2 separate regions of the Homo sapiens genome follow, and region 1 is linked to region 2. Evidence: promoter capture Hi-C in 16 types of primary human blood cells and fetal thymus (Javierre and others, 2016). All regions are on one chromosome and are shown on one strand. The core of a region is centred on a gene start or on the middle of the fragment in contact, and the rest is flanking DNA. Distances in the headings are between cores, read along the strand shown. Region 1 overlaps AP3B2 (adaptor related protein complex 3 subunit beta 2). Region 2 holds the start of AP3B2 (adaptor related protein complex 3 subunit beta 2).

What was found. Contacts are between HindIII fragments. The CHiCAGO score rates a contact against its expected background, and 5 or more counts as called.
Region 1: a fragment that was not itself captured here is called in contact with the fragment with the promoter of AP3B2 in region 2 in 1 of 17 cell types (naive CD8 T cells); the score reaches 5.6 in naive CD8 T cells.

What each region holds. Positions count from the first base shown.
Region 1 is chr15:82,670,422-82,673,121 of GRCh38, forward strand. The region is part of intron 14 of AP3B2 (adaptor related protein complex 3 subunit beta 2); the gene reads right to left. All of the region lies in intron 3 of CPEB1-AS1 (CPEB1 antisense RNA 1), which reads left to right. Among named protein-coding and RNA genes, the nearest start is that of CPEB1-AS1, 24 kb to the left of the region's middle. The HindIII fragment of the contact is 8,602 bases long and covers 1-2,700 here.
Region 2 is chr15:82,708,589-82,711,288 of GRCh38, forward strand. It overlaps AP3B2 (adaptor related protein complex 3 subunit beta 2), which reads right to left and starts at 1,287. Exons shown (of 27, transcript NM_001278512.2): 1 at 1,006-1,287. The coding sequence starts at 1,118. It also overlaps the pseudogene LOC338963. RefSeq lists silencers at 811-1,070, 1,291-1,340. The HindIII fragment of the contact is 2,125 bases long and covers 1-1,885 here.

The DNA of each region.
Region 1 (2,700 bases), core at 108-2,607, 38 kb before region 2:
TTGACAAAGGTATCAAGAACATACATTAGGGAAAGGAGAGTCTCTTCAATAAATGGCGCTGGGAAAACGGGATATCCACATGCAGAACAATAAAACCAGACCCCTATCTCTCACCATATGCAAAAATCAAATCATAGTGGATTAAAAACTTAAATCTAACACTTCAAACTATGAAACTAATAAAAGAAAACATTAGAGAAATTCTCCAGGACATTGTACTGGGCAAAGATTTCTTGAGTGATACCCCACAAGCACGGGCAACCAAAGCAAAAGTAGACAAATGGGATCACATCAAGTTACAAAGGTTCTGCACAGCAAAGGAATCAACAAAGAGACAAGCCACAGAATAGGAGGAAAAAATTTGCAAACTACCCATCTGACAAGGGATTAATAACCAGAATACGTAAGGAGATCAAATAACTCAATAGGAAAAAAAAATTCAATAATCCAATTTAAAAATGGGCAAAAGAGCTGAATAGACATTTCTCAAAAGAAGACATACAGATAGCAAACACGTATATGAAAAGGTGATCAACATCATTGAGCATCAGAGAAATGCAAATCAAAACTACAATGAAAGGCCAGGCACGGGTGGCTCATGCCTGTAATCCCAGTACTTTGGGAGGCTGAGGCAGGCGGATCACCTGAGATCAGGAGTTGAGACCAGCCTGACCAACACAGCGAAACCCCATCTTTACTAAAAGTACAGAAATTAACGGGGCGTGGTGACGCACGCCTGTAGTCCCAGCTACTCAGGAGGCTGAGGCAGGAGAATCACTTGAACCACAGAGGCAGAGGTTGCAGTGAGCCAAGATCGCACCACTGCACACTCCAGCCTGGGTGACAGAGCAAGACTCCGTCTCAAAAAACAAAACAAAACAAAAAAAGATATATCATCTCACCCCAAGTAGGCTTATATCCAAAAGATAGGCAATAACAAATGCTGACAAGAACATGGAGAAAAGGCAACCCTTGTACACTGTTAGTGGAAATGTCTGGAGAACAGTTTGGAGGTTCCTTAAAAAACTAAACATAGGCCGGGCACGGTGGCTCACACCTGTAATCCCAGCACTTTGGGAGGCCGAGGTGGGTGGATCGCGAGGTCAAGAGATCAAGACCATCCTGGCCAACATGGTGAAACCCTGTCTCTACTAAAAATACAAAAAATTAGCTAGGCGTGGTGGCAGGCACCTGTAATCTCAGCTACTTGGGAGGCTGAGGCAGAAGAAGAATCACTTGCACCCAGGAGGCAGAGGTTGCAGTGAGGCAAGATCACGCCATTGCACTCCAGCCTGGGAAAAAAGAGTGAAACACCATCTCAAAAAAAAACACTACAAATAGGCCAGGTGCAGTGGCTCACGCCTGTAATCCCAGCACTTTGGGAGGCCGAGTCGGGCAGATCACTTGCGGCCAGGAGTTCAAGACCAGCCTGGCCAACATGGTGAAACCCCATCTCTACTAAAAATATGAAAATTAGCCAGACTTGGTGGCGGGCGCCTGTAATCCCAGCTACTCAGGAGGCTGAGGCAGGAGAATCGTTTGAACCTGGGAGGCGGAGGTTGCAGTGAGCTGAGATCATGCCATTGCACTCCAGCCTGGGTGACAGTGCAAGACTCCATCTCAAACAAACAAACAAAAACTAAAAATAGTGCTACCATATGATCCAGCAATCCCAATGCTATGTATATACCCAAAAGTAAGGAAATCAACATATTGAAGTTATATCTGCACACCTACGTTTATTGCAGCACTGTTCACCATAGCCAAGATTTGAAAGCAACTTAAGTGTCTATCAACAGACAAATAGATAAAGAAAATACGGTACATATGCACAATGCAGTACTATAAAAAAAGAATAAAAAAGAATGAGATCCTGTCATTTGCAACAACATGGATAGAACTAGAGGTCATTATTTTAAGTGAAATAAGCCAAGCACAGAAAAACAAACTTCACATGTTCTCACTTATTTGTGAGGGCTAAAAATTAAAAGAATTGAGCTCATGGAGTTGGAGAGTAGAATAATGGTTACCAGAGGCTGAGAAGGGTAGTGGGTGGGGGAAGTGGGGATAGTTAATGGGTACAAAATTATAGTTAGATAGAATGTGTAAGATCTAGTATTTGACAGCACAACAGGGTGACTACAGTCAACAATAATTTATTATACATTTATAAATAACTAAGAGAGTGTAATTTGATTGTTTGTAACACAAAAGATAAATGCTTGAGAGGATGGATACCCCATTCCCTGATGTGATTGTTATGCATTATATGCCTGTATCAAAATATCTCACATACCCCATAAATATATACACCTACTATGTACCCATAAAAATTAAAAAATAAAAAGAAGACGGTCTTGCTAGCAGACTGGCTCTAGAGACTTTCTCCCTTGTGGCTTTGGAGAAATTAAGCATCCGTGTTGGGAGGCCCCTATGGCAATGAGCTAAGGACGGCCTCTAGAAGGCAAGGGCAGCCCCCAGCTGACAGCCAGCAAGAAGCCAGGGCCACAATCCTACAACTGCAAGGAAGTGGATCGTGGCACCATGTGACTTGGAAGTGGACCTTTCCCCAGTACAGCCTCCAGATAAAAACTCAGCCTTGGCTGACACCTCAGTTGTAGCCTTGCATAAGATCCAACTAAGCCATACCTGAATTCTCGACCCATAGACACTGAGAAAATAAACGTGTGTTGTTTGAAG
Region 2 (2,700 bases), core at 37-2,536:
CCAATCTCTTCTCCACAATGCAGCAGCCTGACGTCCTTCTAAAATATAAATCTGATTATGTCGCCTGCTTAGAATCCTTCAGGAGTCCTCCCCACCCTCTTTTCTGGTCAGTCCAGTGGCTCACACAGATTGTGGCCTGGCTCTCAACCTTCCTGAAAGCCCTTTCCTCTGCCTGGAACATACCTCACGCTCCTGTCTTCCTTCTCTCCGGCGCCAGAGACTAGGTCCTCTCCCTGCTCCCACTGCCCCCATTACACTCGACTGTCCCTGACTGCTTCTTCATCTGTGCTCCCCTCTAGAGCATCGTGAGGACAAGAAGGGTCTCATGTTCACAGTTGTATTCCGTGACTAGTTCAGGACTCGACACAGTTGGCTTTTCATAAATGCTTGTTGCAGAATTTACGAATAAACAAATGAAGAAACAAACGAACGAATCAAAGGTGGGGGAGGGTGTGAAGGTGGAGCTGAACTACAGGGGCAATGCCAGGAGCAGGGATGTGAGGGTCAGATGGAGATGGGGACCAGAGGGAGGGGAAATGAATTTGCAGCAGGGCCAAGCTGGGAGGCTGTGCAAGTACATCCAGGGCCCGCCTTCCTGAAGAGGCCCCAGGCTCAAGCTCAAGTTCGCTGACTCAGACCCCTCCCCCACATTTTTGGGAAGCCAACCCGCCTAGCACGAAAAAGGAAGGGAACCCCTAACGCAACGCCGCAAACCGGAGAAACACCTGGAACCGGAGGGTTTCTCCTCTCGAAACTGAGCTGGCCCATCCCCCGCCAGCCCCTATCTGCCCCCCTCCGCGTCCTAGGCCGGCCCCTGGAGCCGGGGTGCCAGCGCTGCCCGCGCTGGGCCGGGGCTCCAGGCCGCAGGAGGGGGCCGGGCGGGCTTCCGGTCGGCGCGGCCGGGGCGGGGCCGGCGCTGGGGCCGGGCGCTGTCCATGGTGCCCGCGCGCCTCGCCCGGTCCCCGGCCCCAACCCTCCCGCGAGCTTCCTGGCGGGCTCCCTCACCGCTTGTAGTCGGAGGAGAAGATGCCGCCGCTCGCGGGGTCGTGGCCGTACTCGGGCTCCCCGGGGCCAGCGGAGCCGCCCTTGTCTTCGCTGTAGGCGGGGGCGGCCGACATGGGGCGGCCAGGGAGACTTCGCCGAGGAGGAGGTTGCGGGGCCGGAGGCCGGCTGGAGCGGAGGAAGGGAAGGCGGGCCGGTCCGGTCCGGGCTGGCGAAGGCGGCGGCGCGGCAGGGGTTCAGCAGAGGCTGCAGTGTGCAGCGGCGGAGGCTGCGCGCGGATTTCTCAATCAGGGCCGCGCGCTGAGGTCTTAAAGGCACCGGCGCCAGCCGAGCGGAGGGCGTGTCCGCGAGGAGGCGACAGGGGCGGTGCGTCAGGGCCTGGCCCCGCCCATCCCTAGGAAATGCCCTCTTCAGGGCGTCTTCTGCCCTTTAAAGCGACTTGGCTCGTCTCCAGATCTAAAGGTGGGCGAGTCTGCTGGACGGACGCTGGGACCGTCTTGCAGGGGATGTGGAATAGCTGCCCCCACCCCCGACCACCTGGCCTCGGCGGGACGGGCCTCTGGGGCTCCGCTCTCCCCAGACGCACGCGCGGATGCTCACCCACGCCGTGGAGGGAAAGCGGGAACTGGAAAGAAGGCTGTGCCCGCAGGCTGGGGGTTCTAGAGCGGGAAGGGGTCACCGCACCCGAGGACCGGCCTCAGATACCTAAGGACGCTCCCTTTCCCGCCCCACCTTTCCTACAAAATCTGGCTTGGCAGCAGGAAGCCGAGGAGCTTCCTGGAGGTGGCGGAATTTAAGGAATTAAGGTCAGGGAGCTCCGAGGAGCCCTTGGGGGCTTAGAGAGATGGGAAACAGGATACAGAGGACGGTGAACATCTAATTAAGCTTTGGAAAGTAGTTTAATGAATCTTTCTGAAGCCTCCACGTCCACCCAGGAGGGCCAAGGTCATGCTTAATCCGGGGACACGTCCACGTCCATTGACACCTGAAAAGGAAGAGAAGGGTCTGGTGTGACCACCAGGGCTCCTGAGTCATGTGAGCCCTCCAGTTCAGCTCCCGAGCCCGAGTGACCCCTAGGCCCAAGGAAGGAAGGCTTGGATCCGATGGAAAGTAGTGAATTGGGCTGGGGGAAGAGGTAGGATCCAGTTGGGCATCAGTTGAGGTGGCTGGAGTCTTTTAGCTGGGCATGGGGACTGGAGGAGTTCCTAAGGCCTGAGTCTTGGTCTGTAACTAGCATCCCGAAGTCTCCATGGGCAGAATTGGCGGGCCTACCTGGGAAGGAGTGGGGCCCAGAAAGGTGGAGCTTGGCTCAGTAGAAAAGTTCTATTGGGGGTAATTCTACTGGGGTAAGGTTCTATTGGGGTAATGAGAAGGTTCTGTTGGGATAACCTAGACAAGTGGGTGGGTCCGCTTGGTTCCGGTGGCTTTGTGCCTGCCAGAGAAAAGTGGATCTTGAATTTGGAGAAAACTGGCCTGGGTGGGGAGTGGGAAGAGAAGGGCCTGGATTTTGCAGTTGCGCGTTTATAAGGCGCTTTGGCTAGTCTGCTCAGGAGGTGGGATGGGTCCTGTGCAGGTAGCTGGGCCACGCTCACCGACCTGCTGGAGCTCCCGTCTATTTGCCGGGGGTCCAGGCTGGGACCTGGGACGAGCAGACACAGTGCAAAGTGCACACAGTTGCTGCGCATGGAGTGATAGGAT